2 separate regions of the Homo sapiens genome follow, and region 1 is linked to region 2. The links are contacts of gene promoters, found by promoter capture Hi-C in human tissues and cell types (Jung and others, 2019). All regions are on one chromosome and are shown on one strand. The core of a region is centred on a gene start or on the middle of the fragment in contact, and the rest is flanking DNA. Distances in the headings are between cores, read along the strand shown. Region 1 overlaps AGBL4 (AGBL carboxypeptidase 4). Region 2 holds the start of AGBL4 (AGBL carboxypeptidase 4).

Region 1 (7,500 bases), core at 1,812-4,311, 240 kb before region 2:
TTGACACAGGTGCCAAGACCATTTGATAGAGAAAACAAGTCTCTTCAATGAACTATACTGAAAAACTGGATATCTACTCACAAAATTATGCAGTTGGAACCCTTCCTCAAACCACAAATGATGGAGTTAGACCCCTTTCTCAAACCACACACTAAAATGAACTCAAAACAGATCAAACATCTAAATGTAAGAGCTAAAACTAATAAGAAAACATAGGTGCAAGTCTTCATGATCTCGGATCAGGCAATAATTTTTCAATGTCACACCAATAGCACAAGTAACAAAATTTAAAAACGATAAATTTGACTTCATCCAAATTCTGTGCAACAAGTGATACTATGAAGAAAATGAAAACACAAGCCACAGAATAGGAAAATAATTTTAAAGACTTATATCCAGCACATATAAAGAACTCTTACAGTTAATAATAAAAAGATAAATGACCCAATAAAAAATAAAAAATATATACAAATGGAAAACAAATACATTAAAAGATATTCAACACAATTAGTGATTAATGAAATGCAAATCAAAACCACAATGAGATACTTCTTCACACCCAATAGGATAACCACAAATCCTTGCTCTGCCAAGCAAATAATAGCATTATAACCTCAGTTTACTTACTCATAAAACAAAGATAATTAAACCTAACATGCAGAGTAATTTATAGGTTTTGAAAAATATCTGTAAAGTATTCATCTGAAAGCAAAGTGGCAACTTAATAAACCAAAGCATTTATATTTTTTACTTTTTATAGGTGACTCTAAAAGACTAGAATTTATAGAAGTAGATAGTAGAATGGTGGCTACCAGTAGCTGGGGATGAGTGGGAAGGTGAGAGATAGACAGAACCTGACCAAAGAGTACAAAGCTTCTATCTGACCAAAGAGAAATAAGTTTCAATATCTATCCCACAGCAAGGTGACATTAGAAATGATAATGTATGTTACAAAATTACTAAAAGAATGTATGTTAAAATGTTCTCTCTACAAAAAAATGACAAATATGTGAGGTGATGGATATGTTAATTAGTTTGACATAATCATTCCACAATGTATATACATATATCTAAGTGTTTTACCCCATAAGTATATATTACTATTTGACAATTACAAATAAAAATTTTAATTTAGAAATTTTTTAAATCATTTATTACTATTGTTACAATTAGAAATTTGCTGAATACCACTAATACCACTCCACAACTATGGTATTAATATCCTATTTCAGGGTGGCAATGATAACAATGATGTTCTGAAAACATATACAATGGGATTTTTAATCTTATTGCAAATTCTGTGGCCCAAATTGAATTTCAACTAACAACTGTTGAAAACTATTTCCAATGGTTTTCCTTTTAATCCCATATGCCACCTACTCACAAAATTTAGCCCTCTCTGTATCTTCCCAATAGGAAGAACAACAACAACCTAGGCTAGAAAAAAGTGTTACAAAAATGAGCGTTGTCATTACATACCTCTCAGAATCACCAAAAATCAATATGCACAATTTCAGAGTACATGAGAAATCCCAGGAAAAAAAAAATATATATATATATATATATATATTTCCTGAGGCTAGACCCACCTACGTTATGGGAAAAGGTATCAGGAAGAAAAAAGGACTGTCTTCTCATTAGCGTCAGTGACATTGTCAAATATGAAAGCAGAACATTACCTAAACCGTTATCCATCCCATTGATGCTTTTACAAAATATTCCAGAAAACAAAGGGAAATGTTTTCTGGATTACAAGAATAGCAAAATACAAATAAATACATGAAAAAATAAATACCCCAAATTCCATGATGCAGAGAGAATCCTCGCTACCATCTGAAGCTAACCTTTTCATATCTTTTTCTACAAATACTCATATTTTACATGGCTGAGATCAAACTATGTATATAGTGTCACAGCATTTTTCTACTTAACATTTTATCTTACGGTTATGAGCTATCTATTGCTGCATAATACAATTATCTCACAATTTAGCACCTTAAAGTAAGAAATATTTATTATCCCACAGTTTCTATGGGTCTCTGGGACAAACACTTTTCTACCTTGAATTTCTGCTGAGTAACAATATCTCTGAGCTTCTTAACAAGCTTCCATTGTTTCATTGAGAACACTTATTTTAAAGGTTAAGTATACCTTTAAAATATTTAGATGATTTTTATTCAACTTAGTACTCTGAAGCACCACCTTTCATCTTTCTGAGGTCTCAACCAGGGATTTTACAATCACATCCTCAGTTTCATCTCCAGACAAAGTTTTTCTAGAGTGCCCTGAATTGTATCTTTACCTAAGATGATAAATTTTAGAAACATTTGTCATCTATAAATACTGGACATTTTTTAAACCATAAAGCCCTGGATCCTTTATATTTAACAGTGCTTGCTTTAGTTTATCTCCCTTTTCTCAAATTTTACTATAGGTATCAAGAAAAAAAACAGGCAGTGTTTCCAACATTCTGCTTAGAAATTTCCTCAGCTACATCACTCAGTTCACTCAGTGCACTTTCTACTTTCTACATTACTGCAGTGGCAGTGTTGGTAAATTTTCCATCACTACATAACAAGAACCCTCTTTCATCAAGTTTCCAACAAGGTTTTTCTCATTTTCCTTTATGCCTTCACCTAAAGCCTTCTCAAAGGTAGTTTTGTTTCTATAGTTCCTTCAATACTGTACAAGATTCCACTGACACGCTCCCTAAGTCCCCCCTGTAACAGTGAAACAGGGGATGAAGCCCAGCCTGCATATAGCGACATTTTAAACATTTCGCTAACACCCTTGGAAACCAGCTGAGAAAAGAGAAGGGCGGACATATCACGTGATAAACTACAACTCAATCTAGACGCACCCTAACAAAGATTGGCCGGGCGCAGTGGCTCACGCCTATAATCCCAGCACTTTGGGAGGCGGAGGCAGGTGGATCACGAGGTCAGGAAATCAAGACCATCCTGGCTAACACGGTAAAACCCCGTCTCCACTAAAAATACAGAAAAATTAGCCGGGCGTGGTGGCGGACGCCTGTAGTCCCAGCTACTAGGGAGGCTGAGGCAGGAGAATGGCGTGAACCTGGGAGGCGGAGCTTGCAGCGAGCCGAGATCAAGCCACTGCACTCCAGCCTGGGCGACAGAGCGAGACTCTGTCTCAAAAAAAAAAAAAAAAAATTGAAACCAACCCCAGACAAAAACGTGAGGAAAGACAGAGTTTGTAGGTTGAGTACTATGTCGGGAGTTTCCAAGATCACTCTCAGGTTTGATAGGTCACTAGAAAGACTCAGAGGACTCAGAATAAGTTATGCTCAATTACAGTTTGTTACAGTGAAAGGACACAAAGCAAAGTCAGCAAAGGGGAAAACCACACGGGGTGAAGTCTGGAGAAAACCAGGCAGGAGCTTCTAAAAGCACTTTCCCAGTGAAGTCACACAGGACACACCTAATTCCTCCAACAATGAACTGTGACAACACATGAGAATTGTTGCCTACCAGCTCGCCTGCACATAGAAACCCAGGGGCCTTTTTTGCGGGGAAGGGGGTGTCAGTCACTGAACTTCCAAACCCCCAGAAAAAAAAAAGCAGATGTCCACCATAAATTATATTTTTTACATAAACTATCTAAACAAGCAAGTACAATATTTCCAAAAACCAAGCATGCAGAACATTCCTATCAGGACATTCAAGGAGCCAGGCAAAGGCCGGTCACACAAAAAGGATCTTCTTGAGAATATGCAAAGTTCTAAGAGCATTCTGGGAGCTAGGCAAAGGTCAGTCACACACAAAGGACTTTTCTTGGGGATATGCAAACTTTGAGAAACTCATAAATGCTGAGTTAATTCTTTTCTGCACAAGCCCCAAGTTACAGACACTTGGAAAACCGCTTAGACATTCCACAGATCTGCCTTTACAAAGCACATAACTAAGTCTATATAATGTCAAGGTGATCAGCCAAAAACTGAACTGCACACTAGAACAAAAACAGAGGATAAAAAAAGAACCAAGAATTTCTACAAAAAACATCTACAATGTCCAATTTATAACAAAATATTTCTAGATATACAAAGAAAAATGAAAAGAAAAAAACTCCATCAATACAGATGGACACCGAGATGGCCCAGATTTGGGCTTTTGGAAACAAAGAGCATATTATAAATATCTTCAAATAACTAAAAAAATTTCAAAGAATAAAAGAATGAACAAATAGAGAATCTTATACAGAAAACTCAAATCTATAAAAAGAAACAAATGGAAATTATAGACCTAAAACTTACAATGATGGAAATTTAAAAATTCATGAAATGGGCTGAAAAACAGATTAGAAACATCAGAATAAAAAGAAACTATTACAAAATATCTGCTCTGAATAACACAGAGAAATTAAGTTGAAGAAAAGTTAACAAAGCTTCGTGGACGCATGGGAAAATAACAAGCATGTAATAAGAGTTCCAAACAAAAAAGAGACAATGTGGTAAAAAGAATATTTTACGAAATAATGCCTGATTGCCCTAGCCAGAACTTCCAATAATATGTTGAATAAGAGTGGTGAGAGAGGGCATCCTTGTCTTGTGCTGGTTTTCAAAGAGAATGCTTCCGGCATTTGCCCATTCAGTATGATATTGGCTGTGGGTCTGTCATAAATAGCCCTTATTATTTTGAGATACATTCCATCAATACCTAGTTTATTGAGAGTTTTGAGCATGAAGCGGTGTTGAATTTTATCAAAGGCCTTTTCTGCATCTATTGAGATACTCTGTGGTTTTTGTCATTGGTTCTGTTTATGTGATGGATTACATTTATTGATTTGAGTATGTTGAACCAGCCTTGCATCCCAGGGATGAAGCTGACTTGATCGTGCTGGATAAGCTTTTTAATGTGCTGCTGGATTCGATGTGCCAGTATTTTATTGAGGATTTTTGCATCAATGTTCATCAGGGATATTGGACTGAAGTTTTCTTTTTTTGTTGTGTCTCTGCCAGGTTATGGTATAAAAATGATGCTGGAAACAAATGAAGTGTATTCAAATAGGAAGAGAGGAAGTCAAATTGTCTCTGTTTGCAGATGACATGATTGTATGTTTAGAAAACCCCATCATCTCAGCCCAAAAAGTCCTTAAGCTGATAAGCAACTTCAGCAAAGTCTCAAGATACAAAATTGATGTGCAAAAATCACAAGCATTCCTATACACCAATAATAGATAAACAGAGAGCCAATTCATGAGTGAACTCCCATTCATGATTGCTACAAAGATAATAAAATACCTAGGAATACAACTTACAAGGGATGTGAAGGACCTCTTCAAGGAGAACTACAAACCACTGCTCAAGGAAATAAGAGAGGACACAAATGAGAAAACATTCCACGCTCATGGATAGGAACAATCAGTATCATGAAAATGGCCATACAGAACAAAGTAATTTATAGATTCAATGCTATCCTCTTCAGGCTACCATTGACTTTCTTCACAGAATTAGAAAATACTACTTTACATGTCATAAGGAACCAAAAAAGAGCCCGTATAGCCAAGACAATCCTAAGCAAAAAGAACAAAGCTGGAGGCATCATGCTACCTGACTTCAAACTATACTACAAGGCTACAGTAACCAAACAGCATGGTACTGGTACCAAAAACAGATATATAGACCAATGGAACAGAAGAGAGGCTTGAGAAATAACGCCACACATCTACAACCATCTGATCTTTGACAAACCTGACAAAAAAAGCAATGGGGAAAGGATTCCCTATTTAAGGCCAGGCACGGTGGCTCACGCCTGTAATCCCAGCACTTTGGGAGGCCAAGGCGGGTGGATCACAAGGTCAAGAGTTCAAGACCAGCCTGCCCTCACCCCCTACTAAAAATACAAAAATTAGCCAGGAGTGATGGTGCGAGCCTGTAGTGTCAACTACTCGGGAGGCTGAGGCAGAAGAATCGCTTGAACCCAGGAGGTGGAGGTTGCAGTGAGCTGAGATCGCATGACTGCATTCCAGCCTGGGTGACAGAGTGAGATTCTATCTCAAAAAAAAAAAAAAAAAAAGAAGCTCAGTAAACCCCAAGCAAGGCAAGATAAATACCAAAAACAAGTTCAATCTATGCAGATCATACTTGAAGTACTTAAAACCAAAGATAAAGGTAAAAATCTTAAAAGCACAGGGAAAACAGATATACTGCCTGCAAAGGGGATGAGTGATAATAAATAACAGTTGAATTAAAAAAATTATCAATTGAGTTTATACAGCAATTGAATAATGCTAGTAGTGTTAAAAGAAAAATTAAACAAAAAATCATTTCAATCCAGAATTCTATATCAAGTGAAAATATCCTTTAAAACAAGAGTGAAATGAAGACAATTTTATATAAGCAAAAACAGAGGGGATTCAGTGCCAGAAGATGCATATCTGCACAATAAGAAATGTGTAAGATGTTTTCCAGGTTGATAGAAACTCAAATCTAAAGGAAAGCCAGGTGAAAACCTGTATCTACAAGAAAGAGTAACAACAGAAATGGCAGATAATCGACTATATTTTAAAGATGTTTTTAATGTGTAATTGTCTTAATAGCCAATTGACTGATAGAAGCTAAAATATTGACATTGTAGTGAGCTTTATAATGTACAAAATATAAAACATATAATAACAATATCCAAAGAATGGGGCAGGACAGGAAAATGGAATTAGACTGTTATAAGGTTTTTACAGTTTTGAAGTATGAAATGGGAAGTGTGAAGTATGAAGTATCAAGTGTGAAATAGGAAGTAGAAAGTGTGATATAAGAAGTGTGAAATGTAAAGTGATATAATATTGGCTCTAGACTTTCATAAGTGAAGCATGCATATTGTTAGCCCTAGAGCAACTGCGATAAATGAATGAATGAATGTATGGATAGATTAGTATATTAATATAAATAGAGGTATAGCTAAGAAGCCAATATAGAAAATAAAATGGAATACTAAATATATGCATATCCATGTCTACATGGATATATGTATGTTATATACATATATATGTTAGACACCTACTGTAAAATTTTCTGCCTTAGTGTAGTTCAATTCTAATAGCCCATTACAATTTCTACCAAAATTTCCACCTTCCATATAGTATTGTCTTCCCCAAAATCAGGTCATTTCAGTTTCCTGCCTATATCTCTTCAATGGTTTCCCAATACACATCAAATGAACCACAAACCCTTTACTATGGTCTATGAGACACTACATAATCTAATCCTTGTCTATCTTTATAGTTTCATCTTTTGCCACTCCCTCACCTAATGAACCTCTTTTCAGTTCCTAAAACAAACATATCCTACATCAAGACCATTCTCTGTGCTGTCTCCATCCCTGCCTTCTCACAGATCCCTACTATCTTTTAGGTCTCAGTTTAAAGCTTATCTCATGATAGAAGACTCTCTTAACTAACCTAAAAGTTTCTTTGATATCTTTATTACTAAATTCTTTCCCTCTTTCATAACATTTCTCACAACATGAAATTATATGTGTGTTCATT
Region 2 (7,526 bases), core at 1,260-3,759:
ACTTATCTAAAACCAAATTAATGATCTTTCCTCTCACACCTACCCAAGGCCCCTTCCAATGCTCCCTATCCCAATAATGGCACCACTAACTATCCAGTTGAACAAATTAGAAAATGAGAAGTAGTCTTCGATACTTCCTTCTCCATCATCCTCATATTTCACTAAGTCCTATTAATTTTATCTCCTAAGTATTTCTCAATTCCTTCTCTTCATCTCCACTGCTACCTTCTAAGGTCTCTCTATATGCATTCTTGTATCCTCTGTACTCTCCTCAATGTAGCTGGTGGAGAGTATATCCTATATCCACTCTTGTATCCTCTGTACTCTCCACATTGTAGCCAGAGTTATTTTTTAATTATTCTAATCATGGCATGCTCCCACTTAAAAGCCTTCAATGGCTTCCCATTATTCTTAGGATTTCTGACCCAAATTCATATCATATTCTACAAAGTACTGGAAGATCTGGCTTCAGCGTACCTCTTCTCTCTTCCCATTGCCCCACATGTACCCACACTTGTCTCCTTTCAGTTCCTCAAACACAGCATAACATGTTTCCACCTGCTTGGGTTCTTTGCACATGGTTTTCCTGCTGCCTCGACCACTCTTTGCCCTTTTTTTCAATTATCCAATCCCTATCATATGTCAGCTAAAATATCACTTCCAGACAATATCAGTAATTCAGTTATTCATTTAAGAAATCTTTATTGAGAACATACTATACACTTAGAAAAGTTCTAGACATGTGGTATTGATAAAACAATGCCCTTGTAGAGCTTACATTGTAGTGGAAGGAGACAGGAAATAAGCAATACAAGCAAGTAAATTAAATAGTATGTTCAAAGGCAATAAATGCTATGAGAAAAAAAGGAAAAGAAGAACAAGGTAAGCTCATCCAAAGCAGGGAATTTCCAATGCCTAACTTATTGCCAGGCATATAGTTAGCACTCGATATTTGTTGAGTGGATGAATGAATAAAGGAATAAGCCTGTTCAAGTTATGAGGGAGCTAAAACTATAAAATGAGTAGAGGAGCTACTCAATAAAACAGAGGTGCCATGAAAGAAAGAGAAATAATGAAGGCCTTGAGACATAATGGTTCCTCGAACTTATTTCTGAGGGTGTCATAGTTTTCAGTTCCAGTTTCTGGGGTGTGGTGTGTATGTACCATAACCACACACACACACACACACACACACACACACACACACACACACACACCAGGACCAAAGTAATTCAAGTGGATCACTCTTGTAATGATAATACCTGATCAGGACATATATACAAGGTTATGTATACCACTGCCAACACCCATCACACACATATTCCCAAAGCCACTTCTTTTCTACCCACACACCCATGCCATCCCGTAACATCCAGTTCTTCAGTGGTCAGCCTCATTTAGAGGCAAACTCCCTCCCACATACTCAAAACTGTAAAAACCTTTGCTTTCTTCTATGACCCTGTGAGAAACTTAAAGTCAGTATCTCACAAATCCCAGCCATATGCACAAGGGGTCCCCTCAGGAATAGGATCCTGGGTCTCCCTTCCTGTCAGTCTTCCTGTCCCTTAAAGGCTATCTTCTACCCACAGAAGTGTGGACATGCACTCCTTTGATTCTGAATGACCTTCAAGATCATTGAACCCACACACACTCACACTCACGCTCCAGCCTCCTTTGGTAGGCTCCTAAAGGACTGGGGCTCCGGGTATCCCCTCAAGGCCTCTTGTCTTTTTAAGGACCCATACAAGAATTATTTGCATAAATTTCTCTGTGACCAGGAGTGACCCTGAGGACACTGCACATCCCCAAACACAAATACTCTAACTCCCCCTTCCATGGCACTGTCTGATATTAAAGTAACACACCTTCCACGTATACCTCCCTCTTTAGAGTCAGAGCCTCCTACTCCCACCCCGAGCCCAAATCATGCCCCTTTAGGGATCTCTCCCATGCTCCCACAGGGCAGTGTACACCCTTTCCATGACACAGCCTAGCCCTAGGATTAGCCTTCACCACAGGTGATCCCAGGATTAAGATCCTGTCTCTTCCCTCAGGTCCCAGCCCCTTTCGGGCCCATGTTCTGTCAGAAGTGTGCACACTAACCCACACTCCCCTCCACCACCCGGACTTCGAGGTCCCTGCCCGCCATTCAGAGGGGTGCACGCCACCCTTGACCCCTGACCCTGAAGTCATAACCCACCGCGCAAATATACAGGACCGCCTCCTCAGGAGTAGGACCATGCCCGAGTCCCCTGTTGCCTGAGACCCAGGACAGCCTGGCCGCCTCAGCCTTCCCCAGATCGGCCGCCCCCACAGACCTGCCTCAGGCGCCGACTGGCTCCCCTCCGCCATTTTTGTTGTCCCTCAGTCTCCGAGCTCACGCGAAGACCGCGGGGCAGTAGGGAGCGGGTGGTGGGATCAGTGGGCTGACAGGAGCTACCTCAGGAAGACGCGGCACGACGGTTGCCTGGGCAACGGGCGGCAGGCGCGCGGGTGGCCGGCGCGCGGCTGAGGGCGGGAGGGACGCCTGGGAGGAGCGTGCGTCCAAGGCCCCGCCCCCGCGGCGCGAGCCCGGGCCTGAGCTGGGACTTGGGCCCCGGGGCGCTGCTCCTCCGCAACCGATCCACCGCATCCTGGCAACTGAGCAGGCTCCGCCACCCCTAGAGCACAGGGGCCAGGTCTGTAGGGATGGCGCTTTCCTGACGGCGACCGGGGTCCTCGTACTGACCGCCCAGACTAGCTAAACTGGCTTTTCTGTGGTTGGTGCTCAACTTTGGGGACTTGGGACAGGTTTCTTGATTTCCCAAAGCTTCTCCCCTTGGTTTGCCTGGGTTACTCGTCTTCAACTGAAATGCACTGAAAACCAACTGTGTGCCCACCCCAACCCAAACACACAGAGGCCCAAAGGGTTCTGGCTCCTTGCCCCTCTGCGACAGCAACCCTCAACCCCAGAAAAGACTTATCCTTTTGCTGACGTATTTTTCAGTAAATATGGGCTGCTGTTTCCCACCTTTCAGTAGTGACACGCCGTTATCGTCTAAAACCAAGCTGGAACATTACCCGTCCTGACCAGCTCTGCCCTCCCGCAGTCCCCTGTATATTCCCTCTATTCCAAATGCTTTATGCATTATTTCCTTCTCGACCATGAGCTCTCTGATACCTACGGTTGTTCTCTTATCTTTGTATACTCCATAGTGCAGCGTGGTGCATGACACAAAGTAGGATCTCAGTCAATGTCTGCTGAATGGAAAATGGTGGTAATCTGAAAGGAAATGAGGTGGAGAGAGTGAAAGAGGGAAGGGGGAAAAACGCTAAGAAAAATGTGTTATTGAGCTGATTGCTTTAGTAGACAACTATTTTTAATCTTGCTTCAGACTCTGAAAAACAGGGTAGAATGTGTGCCTGCCGTTGTCCCACTGAAGAACACAGAGTCTGGGGCATTTGTCTCCTAATTTCTGTCTCCATTGGTTGAGGGTTGCTCTCCACCTTCCAGCTTGAACTCTCTCACATTTCCTGGTTATGCTTGCCAGGGCTGAGCAGACTTCTAGAGTTTGAGAGAAAGCCTTGAGGCAGAAATGCAGAGACGGACCGGAAGGCCTTCTAAGTAAGATGCTGGCCACATGCATGGAACTGTCCATTCATCTGCATTAAAATCAGGGATAAGAATCTTGTACAGAAAGTTACATGAAAATAGCTATCAGAATTATCTCTCACATTTGAACAGTTTAAAATTCACAAGCCATGTCCACACAACTATCAAGATGAATATATATGTGCTTTCCACAGTCCTAATGACACTTATGTAAAGGCTGTGAGGGTTTTGGGAATTTCGGTGTCGGAGGAGTCAATAAGGGCTAAGAAGAACAAAAGAACTACATTAAGTATAGGGAGATGGAAAAATAAAGAGAAAGATGTGGGTTCTACTCAGACTGATGTTATAGCTTTATAATCTTGGGCAAATCACTTAAACTTACTGAGCCTCAGTTTCCTCTTCCAACAAACTGAGACAAAGGTCCTGCCTACCACAAAGAGTAGCTCTAAGACACAAATAGGGTGATGAATGAAAATGCATTTGATGAGTATGAGCCAGGCTCTGTGCAGATGCTGAGGATAAAGAGACAAATATAACATTATTAAATTGAACCACATTGGTCAATTTAAATTTTAAGTAAAATTTAGAACTCAGTTATTTAATCAGAATTGCCACTTTTCAAGTGCTCAATAGCTACATGTGGCTACTGGCTACCATATTGGACAACATATGTATAGAACATTTCCATCACTGCAGAAAGTTTTGTTAGTCAGAATTGATAGACAAATGCCTTACTGGGCAGAGGAGACGAAAAGCCTGGAAAACCAGCTTGCTGACAGGACCAGGTTCGGTTCTCCTCTGTGTCAGCTATTCCTCAGGAAGCAGTGCAGGAGGGAGTATAGACTTCTTCACTACTGCTGGAGTCTTCAGAGACTTCCCTTTTGTTGTGTGAAAAATAACACAGCATGGGAAGTGGGGGGAAAACGTCCCCTACATGGGCTCCTGGGAATTAGTTTCCCCGTGCTACCATTCATATGTCCCTGGGAGGTCTGTCTTCCCCAGAGACCTCCTATGATTTCTGTCTCCACAGAAAACACCCACCCACAACAAGGGTGCCTTCTTTCAAGCAAAATATACCCTGTAGGATTCACCCACTCCCTCCATAAACATTCATTAAAATGATACCTTCCATGTGCCTGGCCACTAAGTTAGATGCAGAATGGAATGAGAGAAATATTTAATTTATAATCATATTTTTACGAGCACAAACTCATTTCATTCTCAGAGCAGCATTATGATATTTGTATTAATATCAGCCTCTTGTACAGAAGATGAAATTGAGGCTCACAGAGTTTAAGTGACTTATACAAAGTTTCAGGCAGAAAGTAGCAGACTCAGGGAAGACTGAAATTATGCTAGGAAATTCATCTGTGTTATCTCATGTAATTTTCACATCAAAAATACCATGCCTTTGAAGTTTACAAACTAATTGGAAAGAAAGGATTAACATGCACAAATTCAGTTTACAATTAATTTCCAAACAATGTGGTAAGAGCAATGACACAGGCATGCTCAGCAAAGTGGAGGAGCACTAAAGAGAGATCCCCTTGATGGGCATCTATAGCCACAGCCCACCAGAAGTATTCAAAATAGCCAATCCTAAATGTTTACTCTGCTCTACCTTGCGATTCTCACAGAAATCCCAATAAAGGCTTTGGCCTAGGATTTCCCCTTGCTCCTGTGTTCTGACACCAAACCAAAACCTGGTGTTTCCCCTGTGACCCTTCATGGCATAAACTTCTTTCCAAGCCTTGTTCTCATTTACTCCTGTGGCCACACCCACTTAATCATACCATATCCAACATTTATATTCTTAGGACATACTTGTTATTCTGCTCTTTAATAAACAGGCTATTGTTGTTTACTCTTTCCATGTAAAATTTTAAATCAGCTTGCCTAATTGCAAAAAAAAAAAAAAGAAAAAAAGAAAAAAGTAATAATGTTGCTGGTATTTTATTAGAATTGTGATAAATTTATAGATTAATTTAGGGAGAAATGACATCTTTATGATACTGAGTCCTTTTATCCAAGTACATGATATATCTTATAATCTGTTTAAGTCTTCTATGTCCTTCAGAAATATTTAACAAATAGTTTTTTTTTTTTTTTTGGAGACATAGTTTCTGTCACTGAGGCTGGAGTGCAGTGGCGCAATCTTGGCTCACTGCAACCTCTGCTTCACCGGTTCAAGTGATTCTCCTGCCTCAGCCTCCTGAGTAGCTGGGACTACAAGCACAGACCACCATGCCACCATGTATTTTGTTTTAGTAGAATCTGGATTTTACCATGTTGGCCAGCTAGTCTCAAACTTCTGACCTCAAGTGATTCGGCCTTCCAAAGTGCTGGGATATGTGTGAGCCACCACACCTGGCCAAAACATTATAATGAGATATTTTATATACATTTTCATACTATGTCTTTAAAATCAGGTTTGTGTTTTACACCCACAGCATGTTTCAATCTGAATTAGCCACCTTTCAAGTGCTCAGAAGACACATATGGCCGGCAGCTACCATACTGGAAAGCACAGGTCTAAACACTCTAATTAAAAGGCAGAGATTGACAGAGTGAATTGGGGGAAAAAATAAGCGAGACCTAATTCTATGCTGTATACAAGAAATTTACTATAAATATAAAGATATATATGGGTTAAAGTAAACAGAAGGAAAAACAGACTTTACAAACACTTATCCAAAGAAGGCTGGATTAATATCAAAGTAGACTTCAGAACAGAATATATTGCTAAAATAGTTAAAGAGGACATTACATAATTATAGAGGTCTTCTCAGCAAGAAGATGTATAACATCATTCTTAATAATGAATTACTGAATGCTTATGGTGTAAGGCCTAAAAATAACACTATATGCTGCCTTCACATCTAGTAAAAACAGGAGGGCCTGGAATTACCTAACCACAAGTTCTCCTCCCCATTCTCCTCACACAGATAAGGTCTCCAAGTCAAACAACACTCCTTATCAAACAGATCAGGTATAGTTCCGATTATCCCTGAGTGGTTTCAGTTCCCTACCAATCCACAGAATTATTCAAACAAGCCAATTAAATCCTCTCATAGGAAACAGGGAAGCACTCAACCCTTTTGAAACTACAAAGCCTGCTTCCTACAGCCACTGATTGTTCACTGTGTTCCTGAGTATAACCTCCATTTGGCCCTTTGATGGTGTACAATGTCATCTTCTCCTGGGCTGTGAGTATATGTGACTAATAAACTGCTCTCAATCTCATCTGTCATGTCAGGTGTCATGTATTCAGCCATTCCCATAACGCCAGGGCAGGAATTTCCCCTCACCAATGGGGTGAATGGAAAGTAATTAAACAAGTAATTAATGCTTTCCTCTATAAATCAGGAAGAAGAGAAGGATGTCCACTGTCAACACTTTTATTTAATATTGCACTGGAAGTCCTAGCCAGTAGAATAAGACAAAAATAAAATTCAGATAGACTGAGAAGGAAAATATAAAAATGTCTATATTTACAAAAGACATGATTGTTTGTATACTTAGAAAATCCAAAGGAATGTACAAAAAGCTACTAGAACTAATAAGCGAGTTTTCTATATGCACGTCAATTGCATTTCTATATACTAACAAAAAAACTTCAGGTTAAGAAAATAATACTATTTACAACATAAAAATAAAAGTACAGATAAATTTAACAAAATATGTGCTAGACTTGTACAGTGAAAACTATAAACTATTTTTGAAAGAAATTAAAGAAGACCTAAATAAATGAAGATATACACCATGTTCATGGATCAGAAAACAATATTGTTAAGATGTCAATTCTCCTGAAACTTATCTATAAGCTCCACTATCCAATAAATATCCAATAGCTACATGTAGCTATTTAACTTTATATTAATTAAAATTAAATTAAAATTAAAGTTCTTTGGTCAAACTAGCCAAATTACAAGTT

Evidence for each region. Contacts are between HindIII fragments. The study calls those that stand out against the background at their distance.
Region 1: a contact is called between a fragment that was not itself captured here and the fragment with the promoter of AGBL4 in region 2, in 2 of the 25 tissues and cell types used here (mesendoderm cells and thymus).

What each region holds. Positions count from the first base shown.
Region 1 is chr1:49,784,348-49,791,847 of GRCh38, forward strand. All of the region lies in intron 2 of AGBL4 (AGBL carboxypeptidase 4), which reads right to left. Among named protein-coding and RNA genes, the nearest start is that of AGBL4, 240 kb to the right of the region's middle. The HindIII fragment of the contact is 3,145 bases long and covers 1,490-4,634 here.
Region 2 is chr1:50,021,445-50,028,970 of GRCh38, forward strand. It overlaps AGBL4 (AGBL carboxypeptidase 4), which reads right to left and starts at 2,510. Exons shown (of 14, transcript NM_032785.4): 1 at 2,319-2,510. The coding sequence starts at 2,352. LOC105378708 (a long non-coding RNA gene) reads left to right here and starts at 2,577. Exons shown (of 3, transcript XR_947311.3): 1 at 2,577-2,678. The HindIII fragment of the contact is 7,609 bases long and covers 1-6,326 here.